Regions from separate parts of the Homo sapiens genome. Here region 2 is linked to region 1. Evidence: promoter capture Hi-C in 16 types of primary human blood cells and fetal thymus (Javierre and others, 2016). All regions are on one chromosome and are shown on one strand. Each heading gives the region's core, a stretch centred on a gene start or on the middle of the fragment in contact. The rest is flanking DNA. Distances are from core to core; before and after follow the strand shown. Region 1 holds the start of NDEL1 (nudE neurodevelopment protein 1 like 1). Region 2 overlaps CCDC42 (coiled-coil domain containing 42).

The links. Contacts are between HindIII fragments. The CHiCAGO score rates a contact against its expected background, and 5 or more counts as called.
Region 2: a contact is called between a fragment that was not itself captured here and the fragment with the promoter of NDEL1 in region 1, in 12 of 17 cell types (total CD8 T cells, naive B cells, non-activated CD4 T cells and 9 more). The highest score is 11.1, in total CD8 T cells.

The regions. Positions count from the first base shown.
Region 1 is chr17:8,433,228-8,437,518 of GRCh38, reverse strand. NDEL1 (nudE neurodevelopment protein 1 like 1) reads right to left here and starts at 1,635. Exons shown (of 9, transcript NM_030808.5): 1 at 1,474-1,635. RefSeq lists silencers at 1,082-1,321, 1,362-1,561, 1,662-1,831. The HindIII fragment of the contact is 3,991 bases long and covers 417-4,291 here.
Region 2 is chr17:8,734,852-8,739,088 of GRCh38, reverse strand. It overlaps CCDC42 (coiled-coil domain containing 42), which reads left to right. Exons shown (of 7, transcript NM_144681.3): 5 at 3,478-3,699; 6 at 3,835-3,993. Among named protein-coding and RNA genes, the nearest start is that of CCDC42, 7.9 kb to the left of the region's middle. RefSeq lists an enhancer at 1-257. The HindIII fragment of the contact is 3,288 bases long and covers 1-2,924 here.

The DNA of each region.
Region 1 (4,291 bases), core at 386-2,885:
AGAAGTAATTTTAAGCTTTAGTAACCAAATTTATCCCAGCATGGTTTAAAATGAAAACAAAAATAAGTTGTTTTGCAGATGTCATGAAAGCAAGATCTAAGTTTTACTAAGGTTCCTACTTATTTTAAGCTCTTTATCCAACTTCAATTTATTTAATTTAAAAAAATCAAAAGAACTACAGCTTCAGAAGATTTAGCAACTTCTATCTGGATCAAGTCAACCTCTAACCAGGGCTGGCCAAAGGTTTTGTTTCTCACGCACTCTAATTTTAAATAACAATAATTTTAATAATAATTCAGAAGAAATACTTCACTTGGTTTCCCTTTACTTCTCTTCAGCCCATGACTTAACGCTGCACTGTGCCCATCAACTTCACGATTTAGCAAAGCAATTAACCAGCAACTCCTGAACAAGCTTCACAGGAAGATTTTTCTCATGACTGAGCAGCCGTTTTTATCCTAGGTGAGTTTTCTCAAAAATAATTGAGTAAGTAATCTACCAGCTTCTGGCATATCTTTGGCAAGTCACATTTTCTGCCTTGTTTTGTAGCTGAGAAGGGTATAAAAATCCCACGAAAAGAAACCAGAACTCCGAGCCTAGAAATGTAAATTATGATCCAAGCTAAACCACTCACCAGTTGGTTGAACCTAAGTATAAATAATTACCCCCATCCCAGCTCCATTTACCCATCGAAATGGCGATAACATAATCAGTTGCAACCACAAGGTGATGCGGTTAGAAAAAGATAGGAAGAAGAGTGCTCTGAAACGTGTAAAGGTGCTACGTAAATAGAAGGTAATAATCAGTGGTGACAGAACTCTCACCTCCTTTGCAAAACTTAAAGGGTCATCTCATGGCTTACAGCAAGAAAAGAGTCGAGCACAAGTAACCCGAGCCCGTTGGTGACACTTTGCCGAACTCCAGGGGGAGGATGATTAGCAGTTCCGGGCGGGAGTCAGGAGAATGCCAATCCGAGCCCAACGTGGGCTGCTCGCGCTCTCGCCCCCCATGGGAGAGAGGCACTGAGAGATCAAAATGCAACCCCGCTCCAAGCCACCCTCGCAAATGAAGGAATTTCGAAGAGGGGGTAGGAGGAGGCGGGCTGGGCGCGCCGCTGCCACCTCCGACTGGGCCACTCCTTGCGCCGCCAGCGCCCCAGCCCACGGTGCCACGTCCCGGCCTCCGTCACCGCCAGCCCTCACCCTACCCGGAACGGGGCACATCTTCCGGAGGCCACCGGAATCGTTCCCTTGCAGGCGCCCCTGGGGGGCCACACATCGGACCAGGGAAGGGAGGGGACAGTTAGAGCGGTTGGAACAGTTGCCCCCAGGCTGGCCGCCCCGGAACCCGGCCCGGCCCGCCCCGGCGGAGCCTCAGACACGGCCCCGGGCCGGGAAGGCTCCCCAAGGGCAGGCCTCGGCGCCGCCGGCCCAGCGCAGCCCCTTAGGGAGCGGCCCCGCGCTGCAGGCTCACCTCCAATGTGTCAAAAGCGCATGTTCGCCGCCGCTCAACCGACGTCTCCCCTCCGCCGGCCCGGCCAGGCCCGCCCAGCCGCTCGGCTCAGCTCCCCTACGCAGCCCCGAGCTCCACTCAGCGTACCTCCGCGCCCGGCTCCTCCCCGACACGTCAGGGACTGCCTGGGTGTCCGAGGCCATTCTGTGACGCACGGGGGCGGGGCTCGGAGCATGCGCGGCAGCGCACGGGTATGCGGGGCGGGGTGGGGCGGGGCTGGTGTCACAGGGGGCGGGCCAGAGCCCGGCGCGCTGACGCCAAGCTGACGGCGTCCTCTTGCGCAGGCGTCCTCTTGCGCAGGCGCTCCTGGACTCTGCGACCGGCTGGTTTTGGCTTGTGCAGTTCCCTGAAACTGCTATTCGGGAGAGTGGTGCCAAGACGGATGGGAACCTGCCTTCAGTTTTCTGGCCACCAAGGCCCTTCAAGTGTCCATGTGTCTGTGTTCCCGTTTATAAAATGAATCTCGGCTCATAGTTCACCTCCGAGTCCATTCCCCCTGCTCGAACACCCAATGGAACATCAGGAGCATTCTAAGCATCACTCTCACAAAGCTCTGTGTTGTTTTTACAGAACTTCCACTGTTTACATTTTGTATTTGTTCTCATCTTCCTCCAGTAGAATTCTAAGTTCTATGAGAGCTAGAACCTCTTATGCCTTGCTCATCCCAACAGATAACTTGGTTCTAGGCAAAGTGGACGCTCAAATATTTGATGAATGAATGAATGGATTCGTTGGCACAAAGGGGATTTTATATTTGCCCATTTATATATTGTATATATCTGAGCATATATTCATTTTTGTATACATGCGTGTACGTGTGTGTATGGGTGTGACTTTCTCCCCTCCAGGTCCCCCAAGAAATGGAGTCCTATGTGTATATATATACCTCTTACAATCCATCTTGGTTTTTGTTTGTTTGTTTGTTTGTTTGTTTTTGAGACGGAGTTTCGCTCTTGTTGCCCAGGCTGGAGTGCAGTGGCGCGATCTCGGCTCACTGCAACCTCCGCCTCCCAGGTTTAAGCAATTCTCCTGCCTCAGCCTCCCTAGTAGCTGGGATTACAGGCGCCTGCCACCACGCCCGACTAATTTTTGTATTTTTAGTAGAGACGGGGTTTCACCATGTTGGCCAGGCTGGTCTCGAACTCCTGACCTCGTGATCCGCCCGCCTCGGCCTCCCAAAGTGCTGGGATTACAGGCGTGAGACACAGCGCCCGGCCCCATCTTGCATTATTAATGTTTATATATTTTTAGTACGTAAACACACACGTGTATGTGTGTGTGCGCGCGTGTGTATTCCCTAGCGGACTTGGAAGCAAGCTGGAGACGATACTAGCCCAAAAAGGAGGGAAAGAGGGATAGGCAACTTACATAGGGAGTGGAAACTTAAAGGAAGAGATACATTTTAAAAACAATTTTAAGAACTTTTGCTGTATAATGTACAAGGTAATCCTTTCCTTTAGGAGATGGGGTCTACTGTGTTGCCCAGGCTGGTCAAGAACTCCTGACTTCGGCCAGGCGCTGCAGCACTTTGGGAAGCCGAGGCGGGCAAATCACCTGAGGCCAGGACTTCGAGACCAGCCTGGCCAACATGGTGAAACCCTGTCTCTACTAAAAGTACAAAAATTAGCCAGGCATGATGGTGGGCACCTGTAATCCTAGCTACTCCGGAGGCTGAGGCAGGAGAATCGCTCGAACCCGGGAGGCGGAGGTTGCAGTGAGCACCACTGCACTCTAACCTGGGCGACAGAGTGAGACTCCGTCTAAAAACAAACAAAACAAAACAAAAAAGAACTCCTGACTTCAGGCAATCTTCCCACCTCAGCCCCCCACAAAGTCCTGGGATTACAGGCACCAGCCTCCATGCGGCACGCAATGTAATCCTTTCCAATTTCAGTGCTTTTAGGATTGGATTTGTGGGTGTGAACACAAAAATAATGTGTAAGACATGCCTCAAGGTGAAAACAAAGTGAGCCTAGGAGGCCCAGTTTATATTTTTGAGGGCGATGGACATAAACAGGAACAATGCAAGATGGATTGTAAGAGGTACCCAAATCAATAAAGATCAGAGAAGGGATTAATGGGGTTTGTGGGAAAGGTAACATATTACATATGCCTATTATGAATAATATTATGAATAATATGCATATTATGAAAAAACTATGCATGGATTTCCAATTTTTTTTTTGCACAGGGCCAAGCATGGTGGCCCATACCTGTAATCCCAGCACTCTGGGAAGCTGAGGTAGACAGATCACTTGAGCCCAGAAGTTCGAGACCAGCCTGGGCAGCACAGTGAGACACCTGTCTCTAAAAAAATAAAATAAATGTTTGCACCAAAATAAATTTGTTCTAACTTGCTATAACATGTCTGAACAGGATCTAGCTTGAAGCACCAAGAAAGATAAGAAATCAGTTTGAAGAGAGTCCCTATCAGAACACATATTCTACAAAATTGAAGCAATACAAAATACTAAATTTATGGTGAAGCCTGGGTGGAAAAATGGTGGAATCATTGACGCTTTATAAAAGTGTAAAAGGACAAAGCCCCAAAAGAAGTCAGCAGTTTACAAATGGATAATTCATTTTAAGAAGAAACATGATGATGTTGAAGATGAAGCCCACAGCAGCAGACCCTCCACATCAATTTGTGAGGAAAAAAAGTAATCTTGTTCATGTGCTAATTGAAAAGGATCAATGATTAACAGCAGAAACAATAGCCAGCACCACAGATATCTCAACAGATTTGGCCTACACAATCCTTACTGAAAAATTAAAGTTG
Region 2 (4,237 bases), core at 31-2,530, 300 kb before region 1:
AATACTTTAAGAATACTGGAAAGTATAGAGACACACATAACAGCAACCAAGTACTCATCACACAGCTTTGCTAAATCTTCGTATTTTCCCCATCTGCCCCCAGTTCTTTTGTCTTAAATCAAACACTACCGATAATTGAAATCCAGTAAATGAACTCCTTTGTGTCCTTCCAAATCTTATGTTTCTTCACCTGTCCTCAGACATCACGAGTATCCTGCTTTTAAAAATTCTCAAGTCATGCTTTTTATTATTTTGTAACATTTTGTAACATTTAACGTTTTGTAACTTTTTATTTGAGTATTCTGCTTTCAAAAATTCTCAAATAGCCAGGTGCGGTGGCTCACGCTTGTAATCCCAGCACTTTGGGGAGGCCGAGGTGGGCAGATCACGAGGTCAGGAGTTCGAGACCACCCTGGCCAACACGGTGAAACCCTGTCTCTACTAAAAATACAAAAATTAGCTGGGCGTGATGGCGGGTGCCTGTAATCTCAGCTACTCCGGAGGCTGAGGCAGGAGAATTGCTTGAACCCGGGAGGCAGAGGTTGCAGTGAGCCAAGATCATGCCATTGCACTCCAGCCTGGGTGACAGAGCTAGACTCCGTCTCAAAAAAAAAAAAAAAAAAATCTCAAATCATGCTTATTATTTTGTCACATTTAATGTTTTGTAACTTTTTATACGGAATTTTTTAAGCATACACAAAAGTAAAGACAATAGTCTATTGAACACCTGTTGCTCATTACCTGATTCTAATAATGATTAATTCATAGTCACATCCCCCACACTTTCCCACCTCTGCCATTTTGAAGCAAACAATATATTTTCATCCATTTGCGTCTCTCTGCAGTATGTATCTCTAAGAGATGAGAGCTCTTTTTAAAATAACTACACCATTGTCACACCTACTATACAATTGATAGTAATTCCTTAACATCAAATATCAGTATCATTTATTGCACAAAATGGGTCAAGCGTGGTGGCTCATGCCTGTAATCTCAGTGCTTTGGGAGGCTGAGGTGGGAGGATCACTTGAGCCCAGGAGTTCAAGACCAGCCTGGGCAACAAAGTGAGACCCCCCCCAAATCTGCAAAAAATTAAAAAATAAAAATCAGTCAGGAATGGTGGCACACACATGTGGTCCCATCTACTTGGGAGGCTGAGGCAGGAGGACTGCGTGAGCCCAGGAGGTCAGGGCTGCAGTGAGCTGTGTTTATGCCACTGTAGTCCAGCCTGAACAATAGAGTGAGACCCTGTCTTTTAAGACAAATTATTGCACGGATGCTTTTTGTACAGTTGGTTTGTTCCAATGAGAGTCCATATAAGGTCCTCACACTGCCCTTAGTTGGTATGCTTCTTAAGCCAGACACAAAAGAGGTTATATCGTATGATTCCATTGATGTGTTTAAAAACAGGTAAAATTAATCTTTATTGATAGAAGTCAGAATATTGGTTTCCTCACTGGTCGGGGGAAGACACTCACTAGCAACCCTTCCTCATTTATTTGCTAGAATACTACCATAAAGAAAAGGACTTCATAAAGAGATCCTTTCCTTCATCCACCATTTGATTACTATGTGGGTCTCGCAGAGAAAGTTTGTTAAATGCTTTATTTAGTTTTCAGAATAATGAATTTGTTCTCTAGCACTGACCTGTAATGTTTCTAGTATCATTGTGAACTGATGGATTTTTAACATATTTGATATGTTTTAATCCTTTGCACTTATTCTTACTAATGTTCAAATCATCTCATCTTTGGGCAGTGGGTGGCTCTTCGATTTGGCACCTAAATCCTTTTGACATCAGCATTAAGTTTAGAGGTGTGTTCCTAGTAGCTCTGATGTGGTCCATTTATTTGAACTGTGGTACACTGTTGCACTGTGTGCCAGATGAACTTTCAGAAATGCACACGTGAATTGTCTGTTTCTTAAAATCCTTCAATGGATAAAGTCCACACTCCTTCCCAAGGTTTACTGAGCTCGCTTGCTTGCTTGCTTTTCTTTTTTTCTTTTTCTTTCTTTCCTTTTTCTTTTCTTTTTTCTTTCCCTTCCTTCCTCCCTCCCTCTTCTTTTCTTTTTTTCTTTTCCTTCCTTTCTCCCTCCCTCCCTCTCTCTCTTTCTTCTTCTTCTTCTTCCTTCCTCCTTCCCTCTTTCTTTCTTCTTCTGCTTTCTTCTTCCTTTCTTCTTCTTCTCAGTCTCTCCCTCCCCATCTTGAACTCAGGCTACCTTCAGCATCCTGAACATACAACCCCCTATTCCATTCATCTTTGCCCAGGCTGTCTCCTTCACCTGTAGCACTGCCTCACCTCCCTACACCTGCTTTTGCTAGCTATCTTCTATTTATATACCTCTCATCTCATTTCAGCCACACTTTCTCCCATGAAACCTTTTCTGGCTGTTCCTACCTCTTTCCGTGCTGGGTTGGGTGGCCCTTCCCCAAAGAGGCATATTTGGGGAAAGGCCAGCAGGGCAGTTCCCAGGACACGCATCCATCACTGGAGATGTCACGAGATGGAGAAGGTGCTCGGGAAGTTTCCCCTGGGCGGCTGAAAGGCATGCTTTGATAAGCCCCTAGGAAGGCAACTTGGTATCACAGAACTGGTGTTCATGCTGCCTTCTAAAGAGCGTGGGTTTCATGGCTTCTGTTCCACTGAGTGGGACCTGAGGGTTAGGGCCAGAGTGGCATGGTTCTGGACCAGGCTGGGGGAGGTGAGCTGAGTCTGGCAGGCCACCTGCCCCACCAGCACCCTCTCTATCCCTGCTTCTCCCTCAGTAAATGAACAAATACCAGAGATCACCAACGTGAAGGCTTTCCCAGAGTCCCCTCCAGCCCTATCCCCCAGTCATAGATAGGGCTTATCTTGCTGTTGTAACTGACTGTTTACTTGTCTGTCTGTCCTCCCTCCATGCCACCCCCCAAGCTGTAAGCTTCCTAAGAGCAGAATCTGGTTTTCCTAACTCCTGCTATTTCCCTAGCATTTAGCATAGCTCCTGGCTTGTAAGTGGTTCCTGGTACAATCTTGTTGAATAGGAAATTCTTGCCTTGGAAGACATTGCAAAATGCCTTCCATCAGCGATTATCAACCCTGGCTGTGCCTAGAGCCACCAGGGGACCTTTTGCAAAATTCAGATGCCAGAGACCACAGAAGACTTGTTTATTCATCTGAATCTCTGGGGGTGGAGACTGGCAGGTGTCCTTTTTAAAGCCCCTACAGGTGATTCTCACATGCAGTTAAAGTCGAAAATCCCTAGCCCAGTTGTGCATCCCCCTGCCCAACAAATGGACCGTGGCCCGTACAAACCCAGGAGAAGCAGGCAGCGGAACCCCAGTGTCCCTCACAGCCTCTGGCCGTGACCCTGGCCAAGGGCCTGCCTGCCCAGGTGTCCAGGTGTCCAGGCATCCAGGCTGGAGGTTGGCAGGACTGGGTGGCTCCCTCAGGCCCCAGGGGCTGGCTGTGCATTGACCTGAGCCCCTGACCACAGTTCGAGGAGATCCATGAGGTGATTGCACGCTACAAGACGCTGGTGAGCATGCGCCACGACCTCATGCAGTCTGCGCAGGAAGGCCAGGAGAAGATTGAGCGCGCCAAGGCCCGGCTGGCGCGCTACATGGAGGAAAAGGATGATGAGATCCTGCAGCAAAACAATGAGCTGGCAAGGCTGCAGATGCGCTTTGACCGTGCCCGCAGCAATGTCATCTTCTGGGTGAGGGGCCCGGGGCGGGCCGGGGGCTCCCAGGCACTGGGTGAGTGCGGGCCCTGAGCATACACACACACACATACACACAAACACACACACACCACATGCTGTGCTCATGCCCCGTCCTTATCCACTCTCCAGGAATCTCGCTGGGCGCACATCCAGAACACCGCAGCCAAGAAGACCCTCCTGCTTGGCACCATTAAGATGGCCACGCTGAACCTCTTCCAGATCGTGAGCAAGCACCTGAAGGAGGTGACTGAGGTGGCACTGGAGGACACCCACAAGCAGCTGGACATGGTAGGAGGAGGGGACAGGCACTGGGCCCGTGGGGTCGGCTGGGCCGAGGAGGTTGCCAGTTGGTTGGGTGGAAGAATGAACCTGACAGAGAAGCAGAGCAGGGACTCTCAAAATTTAACAACATCAGGATCACCTGGGAGGGTGAGGAGTATTACTGGGCCCCACCCGCAGAGTCTCTGACTCAGTGGATCTGAGATGAGAACTCATGAATTTACATTTTCAGCAAGTTCCCAAGTGACGCTGC